Linked DNA regions of Homo sapiens: regions 1 and 2 are each linked to region 3. The links are contacts of gene promoters, found by promoter capture Hi-C in blood cells and fetal thymus (Javierre and others, 2016). All regions are on one chromosome and are shown on one strand. Each heading gives the region's core, a stretch centred on a gene start or on the middle of the fragment in contact. The rest is flanking DNA. Distances are from core to core; before and after follow the strand shown.

What was found. The method cuts DNA at HindIII sites, captures the fragments that hold promoters and counts their contacts. A CHiCAGO score of 5 or more calls a contact.
Region 1: the fragment with the promoter of GPR25 here is called in contact with the fragment with the promoter of TNNI1 in region 3 in 4 of 17 cell types (total B cells, M0 macrophages, naive B cells and 1 more); the score reaches 6.1 in total B cells.
Region 2: a contact is called between the fragment with the promoter of LMOD1 here and the fragment with the promoter of TNNI1 in region 3, in 4 of 17 cell types (M1 macrophages, M0 macrophages, naive B cells and 1 more). The highest score is 10.2, in M1 macrophages.

The regions. Positions count from the first base shown.
Region 1 is chr1:200,871,160-200,874,915 of GRCh38, reverse strand. GPR25 (G protein-coupled receptor 25) reads right to left here and starts at 1,935. Exons shown (of 1, transcript NM_005298.4): 1 at 738-1,935. The coding sequence starts at 1,878. The coding sequence ends at 793. RefSeq lists an enhancer at 1,241-1,883. The HindIII fragment of the contact is 5,028 bases long and covers 1-2,944 here.
Region 2 is chr1:201,944,978-201,948,558 of GRCh38, reverse strand. LMOD1 (leiomodin 1) reads left to right here and starts at 2,011. Exons shown (of 3, transcript NM_012134.3): 1 at 2,011-2,479. The coding sequence starts at 2,219. The HindIII fragment of the contact is 4,460 bases long and covers 1-3,068 here.
Region 3 is chr1:201,419,578-201,423,239 of GRCh38, reverse strand. TNNI1 (troponin I1, slow skeletal type) reads left to right here and starts at 1,510. Exons shown (of 9, transcript NM_003281.4): 1 at 1,510-1,567. The HindIII fragment of the contact is 15,457 bases long and covers 1-3,662 here.

The DNA of each region.
Region 1 (3,756 bases), core at 686-3,185, 550 kb after region 3:
GAGTTTTGTCTCACCCAGTGTACGACCCGCCTCCTGATATGCATTTCACTCCCACTGCTCAAGCAAAGACGGTTGTCAAGACAGGGCTAGCAAGAGTGTTTATTGAGAAAGATGAATTCACAGAGATTTTGAGGTTCCTGGCTGAGTGATGGAGACCTCAAAAAACGCCTGGTGAGCGATTTCAGGACCTTCTGTCCAGAGGGAAAGACCAGAACAACTTCCAGGTGAGTCCTGCCGCTTCACAGGGGGAGAAGTGTCACCAGATTCAATGCAAGGGTTTTGTGAGTGAGAAGGGCAGGGGGTCTGACTTGGAGAAGGTATTTCTCTGAAAGCAACGGCTATTGTGGGAGACGGGAGAAAGCACAGCCAGAAATCAGAATGGCATTTGGGGGTCTGGGTTAGATATTCTGGTGGGTTCTCTTCCCGATGGGACAGAGAAGGAAACCCACTTCCCTTCTGTCTACTTGGTGAATCTGCGGGTCTCCGAGTTGCTGTCTGCTACATCTCATAGCACCTATCTTGGACTGGACAAAATTAGCTCAGGTACCCTGCAGGCTGAGAGGGAACAGCTAGTCACAGGAGCCTGGTTTAGGGGAGTTCAATTGTTCTGAGGTTCCGGGGAAACCGATGGAGGAGGCCTTGGGAGTCCAGGCAGCGCGCGAGGAAATGCGATGCCGGCCCGAGCAGCTTGCTGCCGCCAGAACAGGCGCGTCTGGGGAGCTCAGTCCCCTCCGGGACCTCTGGCCTCCTCTCGATGCTCCGCTGCCGCCCACCTCCAGCGGCCCGGGGCAGCTACCAGGAGGCCGAGGCAGTGTTCGCGGCCTGGGCCCGGCAACGGAACACGGAACTGTCGTCCCTGGAGAGCGAGGAGGCTGAGCTGATCCTTCGCGCCAGGCGGCCGGTGCGCCCGCAGGCCCCGTCCAGCGCCCGGGCTCGGAATGAGCGGTCCAGCAGGAGGTAGATGAGCGGGTTGGCGCAGCTGTTGACGAAGGCCAGGCAGGTGGCAATGGTGAGGCCCCAGCGCAGCGCCAGCAGCAGGGGGCACGGCAGCGGCAGCGCCCCCAGACGCGCCAGGTGGAAGACGGCCCGCAGGGCGCTGAAGGGCAGCCAGGAGCCCACAAACGTGCTCTCGATGGCGAAGATGATGCGCAGCGAGTTCCTCCGGGCCCGACCCACGTGCGGCGGCCGTCGCAGGCGGCGCGAGATGCGGCAGTAGCAGAAGAGGGTGACGACCAGGGGCAGCACGAAGGTCAGCAGCAGCAGCAGCAAGCTGAGGCCCTGGAAGGCGTGGGAGGGCTCCTCGCCGCACTGGCTGTCCTGGCCCCCAGGCAGGGGCTGCAACCCCCGGTAGACCAGGGAGGGCAGGCCGGCCAGCAGCGCCACGGCCCAGACGCCGCAGCACGAGGCCAGCGCGCAGCGCGGGGTGCGCAGTGGCCTCGCCTCGAGCAGCTTCACCACGGCCAGGTAGCGGTCCACGCTCATGCCCGCCAGCAGCAGCGCGCCCGCGCAGCGCGTGCCCGCCAGCGCGAAGCTGCTGAGCTTGCAGAGGCCATCGCCGAACGGCCAGCGGCCGCCTAGCGCCGCCGCCGCGGCCCACAGCGGCAGCGTGAGCACGAAGCCCAGGTCAGCTGCCGCCAGGTGCAGCACGAAGGTATCCACCAGCCGCCGCGGGCCCCGCCGCCCGGCCAGCAGCCACACCACAAAGGCGTTGCCCAGCAGGCCCACGGCGAAGGCCGCCAGGTAGAGCGCGGGGATGTAGACGTAGCCGTAGGGCAGGTCCCCGGCCGGACACAGCTCCAGCTCCTCCAGGCCGTCCAACCCCGAGTAGTCCCAGGGCGCTGACCCCGGGCTGGGGCTCCAGGGCTCTGTGGGGGCCATGGCCTGGCTATGAGGCCTGCGCGGAGTGCAGCCCTGGGCGCAGGCGGCAGCAGCTCTGAGCAGGAGGGGGTTTGCTCTTCACGCCCGGCCCTGCACCTCCCTTCCTGCCACCCAAGCCGGAGGCAAATGGGTGGGCAGGAAAGAGGGGAGGGAGGAGGGGATGGGGTGGGAGGGGCAGGCTTCTGTGAGAGAGATGGTGGCCTCCGATTTGGGGCTGACCCGAGGGGTAAGGGCAGGGACAGGCAAAAGGGGCTTCACATCTAAATCTTGGGAGGAAAAGTCTTCAGGGCTGGGAGACCTGCCCGGCCTCCCAGTAGGAGCGTGGCCCATTCCTCTATTAGTTGCTCAGTTTCTTTGTTCGTGAAATCGGGATACTTGCCCCACTGTCTCAGGGTCGCGTTGCAAGAGGTGGTGGGTGCCCGAGAGCCCTAACCTCTTCTCAGCCTCCACTTCACCCCTTCCCACCTGCACCCACCGGCTGCTGTCTTCTCTGTTTTAGAGGTGAGAAGACAGAGCCCCGGGATTTTATGAGTATGGGGCCTAAGGCACGCCCCACCCCAAATCCACCTGTTCCCTAGGAAAGACTCCACTGCCGGGACACAGCAGATCTGGGTGGGTGGGGGAGCCCGCCCTGGGCAGTCAAGCAGTTGTTAGCGTCCTGAGATGTGGGGCTCATGTCTTCACCCTATGAGTGGCTTCTCTGACCCAGTCAGGTCCTCATGAAGCCACGCGAAAGGGTTTTAAGGCAGCGAGGAAGGGGTGTAGTCAGATCATCCTGCTGGAAAGGGGTGAAACCTGGGATTCACATCTGCCTCTTCCCTGTCTTCTCCTATCCTAAAAAACCTGTCAAGCCAGACACAGATGTAAGCTCAGTTCAAAAGATGACACCTAATGAAACACCAGATTAGTTGTCCTAAATTATGAGTCAGGAGCTTGGAGGCAGCAAGATCCCTTCTGAACTGAGAAACTGAGAGTAAGGGGAGGATTCATAAAGACGAGGGGGAATGAAGTCTGACCCTGAGGAGGCAGTGGGACCTAAGGAGGAGAGGATGGGTGAGGGAAAGCTTGCTCTTTCTCCTGAAGGAGGCATGCAGCCACTTACATCTGAATTCTTCTTAGCAGATATCCCTTCCACAAGATATTGTGGTAGAACTGATGTCACAGTGCCCTCTGAGTCTGTCCCCAGTGTTCCCAGGTATGAGTGGCTGATGTGCCGGGCAACCCGGTGTGGAAAATTTGAGGTGGATTATCAATTTTGTTCGATTAAGACTTGTTAACAATGAACTCCTCCATGAAGCAGGCACTGTTTCAGGCACTGCAAGAGATGCCATTCTTGGCCTTCGCAGTTTGTTGCATAGGCAGGAGAGATGGTTACATAAGCAGAATCTTATGTAATCTTATGCAGGGGCCAAATTGTAGTAAATGTTAAAAACCAAGCCCTCTTAGGGTTTAGTGGAGGGGGAGTGATTATTTTTGACGGGAGGGCTGAATCAGAAAAGGCCTTCGAGGAGATGACACTTGAGATCAGTCCCAGGAAGGAGCTGAAAGTCAAATAAGAGCAGCAGAAAAGAGAAGAAAGGGTCAGACTCGGAGGAGGGAGTAAAGGGAACAAGTATACCAAAATGAGTAGGAATGTGGGCTTTTCAGGGGACAAGCAGTCTGCCAGAGCCCAGGGTAGGAAGGTGGGGGCAGGAGATGAAGCAGGAAAGGATCATGAGGGGATTTGGATTTCAATCTATAGGTCATGGGGAGCCAGGAGGCATCGATCTGTGTTTTGAAAAGATCGCTGGCAGAACTATGGAGAAGGGAGAGGCTCAAGCCAGGGAGACCCCATAGTAGGTTGTAATTATTTGTGTCTGAAATAGATCATGAGCAGTG
Region 2 (3,581 bases), core at 762-3,261, 520 kb before region 3:
TGATGAACTCAAGTCTCAGAAAAGAAGGTAGCTTGCCCAAGTCACATGGCCTGTAAGTAGCAATACCAGGACCAAATACAGGTCTATTGGCCTCAAAGGCCCAAGCTCTTCACTGTTAAATCATACTTCTATTCAGCCTCCTCTTGTTGTGTTTTCCCATAGCCCCTGTGCTTGCTCGCTCTTTCTTTCTTTCTTTCTTTCTTTCTTTCTTTCTTTTTTGAGATGGGGTCTTACTCTGTTGCCCAGGCTGGAGTACAGTAGCGTGATCACAGCTCACTGCAGCCTCAACCTTCTGGTCTCAAGCAATCCTCCCACCTCAACCCCCTGAGTAGCTGGGACAACAGATGCTCACCACCACATCAGGCTAATTTTGTTTTTTTTTTTTTTTTGGAGAGATGGGGGTCTCATTATGTTGCCCAGCCTGTTCTTGAACTCCTGGACTCAAGCAATCCTCTTGCCTTGGCCTCCCAAAGTGCTGGGATTACAGACATGAGCCACTGCACCTGGCCTGATTTTGTATCTTTAGTGATATCTCTTGCTCTTAGAACAATGCCTGATATATAATAGGCACTTGATAAATCACTCAATAAATATATACCTACGGTTTGACCAATAAGTTGGCTACTGACTCTTAAAATGACAACCCCCAGGTTTCCCTAAAGTCTTCTTCCACTCTTCCTATCAAGTCTGCCTGCCTTCCTTCTGCCCTTCAGTCCCCCCAGTGGACACCATTCCCCTCTTCAGCCTTAACCTAAAGTTGGACTAGTGGACATTAAATGGCACGGCCAAGTTTTAGTCCCAGACGATCCCTGGACTCAGCAAATGCTGATCAAGTGACTGTCTCTCTCTGGCTTAGGATGGAAAGATGCCAGGAAAGATCGAAGCATCTACCCTGATGGGTTACACCAGGGCTTCTAGAAGGGATTTTGTGGCAGGAGGAAGGGGGGCAGGGGATTGAATGTCTCTGTGACTTGTGCAGGGCAGCATGATGGATGAGCAGTGGAAAGCCCTTCTATGAAACATGCCAGACCTGTTGCAATCGTATCTCTCCCGACGGCCCAGAATTCTGTTTCCCTGAAGACATACTAAATCGTGCTCTGGATTTATATGTGGGTGGTGACCTGCCTCTGTGCTCCCAAAGGAGGTCTGTCTACAGATGCCCGGCAGAGGAAGAAACAGATGACAACAGGGGGAGGTTTGAACCCTCTTCCCAAGAGCCTTGGAACTTCATGGAAAGTGACAGCCCTTTAAGAGTTTCCCGACTTCTGCAGATCCTTCTCTCTTTCCCAAACAGCCTGCCAGTTTTCAGTTTTGGTACACAGTAAGGATTTATTCTCTCTCTCTCTCTCTCTCTCTCTCTCTCTCTCTCTCTCTCTCCCTCTCCTGCCTAGCTATCTCTATCTCTAAGTTTGTCTTTCTGTCTCCTGTCTCTCTCTTAAGAAGTGGCCAAAGGATCCTGGAGCCTCTGATGCTCAGCCTTCAGGTCCTCCTTGGCAGAACCTGGGTAGAAAGAAAATGGGTAGGCAGGGGGTTAGGAGTAACAGCTCCTCATCTTGAATCTAGACTTTCCTGGAGCTGTATACACCTGGGAGCCCCCCAGCACATTACCAAATACTGTAGAAGGAAGTCCATGAACCACACATTGACCACAGTGATACGTCCACCCGGTGATGGAGTAGTAAAATACGCTCTTGAACGTGCCCCGGGCTGGCGAGTTCACCGGCCCTCATGGCCTCGTCCCTGCTTGTCTGGCTCTCCGTGGCTGTGATCTGCTTCTGCCAGCCTACGCATTTTTGTATCTTTTTCTCATTGCGTGGCCCCTTGTCTTTAAAAGGCTAAACTGCTCTGTACTAAATTTGGTCACGCAGCGCTCCAAGATTCCCTGGAATGTCCTCAAGTTTCAAACAGCTCTGACAGCGAGGTAGGCCCGCCCCCAGCTTGGGGATTGGCTTCTCCTCTCCGGGCCTGGCAGTTGTCGGGTCTTATTGGCCGCTGATTAGACCAGCCGGGGTCCACTAGCCCTGGGCTTCAGGGAGGCTGCTGCGTCCAGTGAACACTTCAGCACCTGTAGCACAGAAGGGCCAAGGAGCTGCAGTCCTCGACCAGCAGGAGGTTTGCTCCTCAGCCCACTCGCTGCATCCAGATCAGCTCACCCCTCTCCCTTCCCTGCCCACCAGGACTCTGATAGCCCCTGGCAGCCACAGCCCATTTTGCCAAGATGTCTAGAGTAGCCAAATATCGCCGGCAGGTGAGTGAAGACCCCGACATCGACAGCCTGCTGGAGACCCTGTCTCCCGAGGAGATGGAGGAGCTGGAGAAGGAGCTGGACGTGGTGGACCCAGACGGGAGTGTTCCCGTGGGGCTGCGGCAGAGAAACCAGACGGAGAAACAGTCCACGGGTGTGTACAACCGGGAGGCCATGCTCAACTTCTGTGAAAAGGAGACCAAGAAACTTATGCAGAGGGAGATGTCCATGGATGTGAGTGAGCACAGCCCTGGAGGGGAGGAGGGAGACAGGGGAGGGCTGGAGACCCTGGCTTCATGATTAGGATGCTTCCTTCCTTAGAAGAAACGTTCTTGTTGGCAAAGGATTTTAATGCTTCAGAACTGATGATTATCCACTGAACTAGCGGTGCGAATCTCTTACTCCTAATTTCTGTTTTATAAGCAGAAGTCGGATATGTTGGAGGAACACAACATCCCACAAAATCAAATAGAGCTACTAGTAGAATGGGAGCTGGAAGGTGTCCTTGAAGAGTCCATTGTCAAGTTGACTCCATCCTGGTCCCACAATACCTTTGTTTTTCTCCACACTCATTCCATCCTATTGTGAGGAGGGGTAAAAAGAGAGAGTGATACTTTATGTCTCCTGTCAGCCACCCAAAAAGACAAAGCTAAGCCATTTTTTGTGGGAGAATAACTCATTTTCAAGTCCCCAACCCTATGGGCATCTCACGGCACATGGATCATTTCAGGAGGCTTGGGGGTAAATGAGTTTCCCAAAGCAAAGGGAGACAGGGACCAGGAGTCTATGGGCTGGGAAATGTGGCTTAAAGACCTGATAAGCTTCAAATTTATTCCCAGGGAAGATGTTTTTTGTTGTGGTTAGTTGGTTTTTGGTTTTGTTTTGTTTTTGCACTCTCCAGAGGAGCCTCTGGAGGGAGCATGCCCTCTTTTTGGTAATTAACCCTTTAGCAGCTGGCGAGGCCGCTTTGCTGGGGGTTGAAGATAGTCATAGAGGAGGGAAAAGGGGTGACGGTTTTGGAAGCATCTGCCCACACCTACAATGGGCTTAAGCACAACTTGCTTTCTGTTTTCCTGAGTTGGCATGGAGGAATTTTTTTTTTGTCACTATTGCATTGGTATGTGAGTTTTCTTTGGACAAACTAGCCTCCGATGAAGTATGACTTTGTGGGATACCTTTGTCCATGGGAAAGAGTGTTGCATAGGAAAATTGTTCAAGTCTTTGTTCTAGTTCTCTTATTCAGCCACATCTCTTGTACATTATCCATTACTTGTGAATTCTTGCAAGAAAAAGATCAGTCTCAATTCTTGCTTTTTGTTTTACTTCTATGGAAACT
Region 3 (3,662 bases), core at 261-2,760:
CCAGCCTGGGTGACAGAGTGAGACTCTGTCTCCAAAAGTATATAAATAAATAAATAAATAAATGGAAAGTTATTGTATAAATTATAATAAGCCAAGGCAATAAACTCCAGTAGGCTCATCTGCAAAGCCCCTAAATTCCTTCTCCCCTCTAGCTGCTCCTTTTGGCTGGAGCCTGCCTTCATTATCCATCACAGCCTCTCCACTTGGAATCCTATGTCCCCAACCCCTATGCCTCCCCAGACCCTGTCATTTCTCCCTGGCAGCCGTCTCACATAGAGGCTTCTCAAAGTTGACCCGACCAGAACAGAATTAGAGCAACCTCTATTAGGCAGCAGAATGTCGTTGTAGAGAGGGCAGGGCCTTTACCTCTGTGGGCACTGGGGTGTGTCTCCTTAGGACACCCCTGCCCATTACTCTCTCCTTCTCCAAATGGGGAGCATGGCTGGGGCTCCCTAACCTCCTGCTTGCGAGGCCTCTCTCTGGCCTCTGAGAGGGTCAGTGTCCTGCCCCAACCCATGAGATGACAGACTATAATAGCCACAGGATTAACATAGCAGGCATTGTCTTTCTCTGACTATAGGGTGGGTATTATGTGTTCATCAACCATCCTAAAAATACCCGGTAAACAGGTGCAGCCCCTGTGGCTCCAGTCCCCTGGGATCTGTTGGCTTCTGGCTGGAGATGAAGATTAGGGCAGAGGAGAGGTGAATTAGTCTCACTGAGTTCCAGGCATGAGACTCGGGTGTCCTTTGGAACCTGGGAAATCTAGATTCCAGGAAACCCATCTGGAGGGGGATGCAGAGTGTCTGCAGACCCTCAGACCTCCCTGAGCATAAAGGTGTGCCCTGCTGCCACTGCCATTCTGCTCAGCCCTGGAAACACTCACTGGGGTCAGCCTGCAACACTGCTCACATCACTCCCCACAGCCAGGCACCCTCGTATCCCACGTGCACCAGAGCCACTGAAAAATCCCTGAAAGCTGAGTCTTTAGCCCTCTTGGGCTTTTGGGGCATGGGTTCAGGGGCCTCATTTCCATATTGCCTTATAAGAGATGCAGGGTTAGCCCAATGGTCCTCTTCCCCCAGCTGCTACTTGCCCCTCTGGGCCTTCACTGTGGCCCTTTGCTCTCCCTCATTCCCCCTCCCAGTCCCATCTCTGCTCAGTCCCCACACCTGGTCTGGCTGCTCATTCTTTCCCTTTCTGCAGCTCGAGTCTCCCCAGGTGGGTGCTGGTTTCACTCAGTTGGTGGCACCTATGTGCACAGAATTTGCCTCTGCTCCTGAGCCACAAATTCACATGGCTTTCCGCCTATGTGCCTGTTGTGTGCATTGCAGCACGCATCTGCCCTGTGAGGTGTGTGTGTGTGTGTGTGTGTGTGTGTGTGTGTGTGTGTGTGTGAAGGGTGGGAGGGAGGAGGGGCAGCAGGAGGGGGCAGTGGGTCTGTTCTATTTTTACCAGCCAGTTGCTGCTGGACACAGTTTTCATAGCCTCCCCTCGGCTCTGCCCCTCACAGTCTGCAGTCTACGGCGAGGCACAGGCCAGCCCAGCTCCACGAGGACTGAACAAGGTAAGCGTCTGCAGCCCAGAACTTCAGATGTAGGTTGATCCCAGGCAGAGAACCTGGGGCTTTTGTTTAAGGAGAAAGCGAGGTCTTGGAGCTGGAGAAAACCATTTCTTGCCTGTGCAGTTGGTTTGTTGGTAGAACATTCCTAAAATACTCCCACAGCATTTTGTCCCACAGAATGGCATCTCTCCTGCAAAACTGTTGTGAGAGGTGAAACTTTTTCCTGGCCATTTGGAGGCTGTGAGCAAGGAGCAGAATCTTCCGTGAGGTTCCTTAGGAGCCCCAGGGCAGAGCCTAAGGGATGATGTTTTCACACAGGATGCCCAGCAGAGTGTGGGAGGGAGAGCGCACCCAGGGGAAGGGGTGGCCCTGGGATCAGAGAGCCAGGGTGAGTGCTCAAAGTCAGCAATGCCTGCAGCGGAAGAGAAGGAGGGTGCCTGACGCGCAGGACTCCCAGGGAGCCTAGAAGGCAGGGCCAGAGCTCCCTGCTGGCCAAGGAAACCATCTTGCTTCTGTGTTCTTTGTCTCTGAGCGACGCTGTTAGCTCCCTTTGCCTATCCCTCTGTAGTGTAGCACAAGAGCAGAGGAGGGCAGACCGGCAACCCCTCTTGACTGCTCCTGCTCAGAGCTCCTGGCTCTGAGAAGCAGCAGTAGATACTGGGGGTCCTCTTGGAGGAAGGCAATGGTGGCGGCATTTTGGGTTGGGGCACAGGAGCCAGTGAACACATAAGCCAGGGCAGTATCTACAGGGTAACCCAAGGCTTGGGGCAGGGGGCCGTGTGGCGGTCCCTGACTCAGGTGGGGGCTGAAGGCAGCACCTGCCACCAGGTTTGGGAGTCACAGTCCCACAGCAGCTCTGAGATTAGGCTTTGCTGTTCAGAACTCAAGATGGGGGCAGCCCAGCGCCATGCACTTGGGAGTGTTAACCGTCAGTCAAGGAAGACAGGGATGCCCTTGAATGGGGGTCCAAGGTCAGGGGGCGGGGAGCAGGGGGAAGCACATGAGCCTAACTAGATACTTGTGGACGTGATCATTGGGTGTGCAAAGAGATCAGTTCTTTCCCCTACATATACACGCTCTCTCTCTCACACTCACACTCTCACACACAGTCACTTACACACACTTACACACACAGACTCAATCTCATAGTCTAGCGGATAGTCCCTTCCACGCTGCAAAGCCTCAAGGAAGGGAAAGCCCAGCTCTGAGGCAACCACCAGAGACTCTTTGCTCCCCCCCTCGGGGGGAGGATTTTCTCATTATCTCCTTGCTTGCTACTTGTAGAGGAGATGGAATCCTGGCTCTCCAAGCCTTCCAGTGGCTGCTATCTTCATCCTGACTTATCAGTCCTCGCTTGTCTTCCACAGAGCCTGGCAAGGGCCCCCGTCTGAGGGGTGTCAGAGCACAGGCTGAGGCCTCTTGCCTGACGTGGGACCCCTTGGTCTGGCATTTGTCAGTGAGGCAGGCTGGGGGCAGGCCCCGGAGCTTGGCAGGAGGTGTAAACCGGCCTTGGAAGGTAGGGCCCCACAATGGGGACAGTTGGATCTCTGAGGGAGACAGGGAGGCATGATCACTGCCAAATGCCCACCAAGGACAAGGCACATCCCAGGGAGACAGACGCAGACCTGGTGCCCTCTGGACACTGGCATTCCTGGAGGCTGATGATGGACAGATGGGCCTGGAGGTGGCTCTTCGCCAGCTGGTGTTTCCTTTGGACTTCCTCAGTGTCTTTGGAGAAGCAGAGCCCTAAGAATAAGCAGCTGCCCATAAAATCTAATACCAGCCAAGCATCTCAGGAATTCATGGATTGTCTCCATACCCCTCCCTCTGTGCCCCAGCATGACAGCTGAGACTCTGGGGTCACACTACACCTCCACCTCCTCCACCCCAGCCTTACCCTCCCCTGGTGGCGGAGGCAGAGGTGGAGGGAGGCCCAGAAGGCTTTCTGACCCGTTGGGAGATTCAGGGGAGGTGGCCAAAGCTGTGTTCATTGGGGTTGGGATAGTGCTTCATGGGCACAAAGGGAAAGGAGAGAATTAGGGCAGAGGAAGGGGTGGCTCTGGGATACAATTATTGGCAGGCACTTTACAAGTGTCTT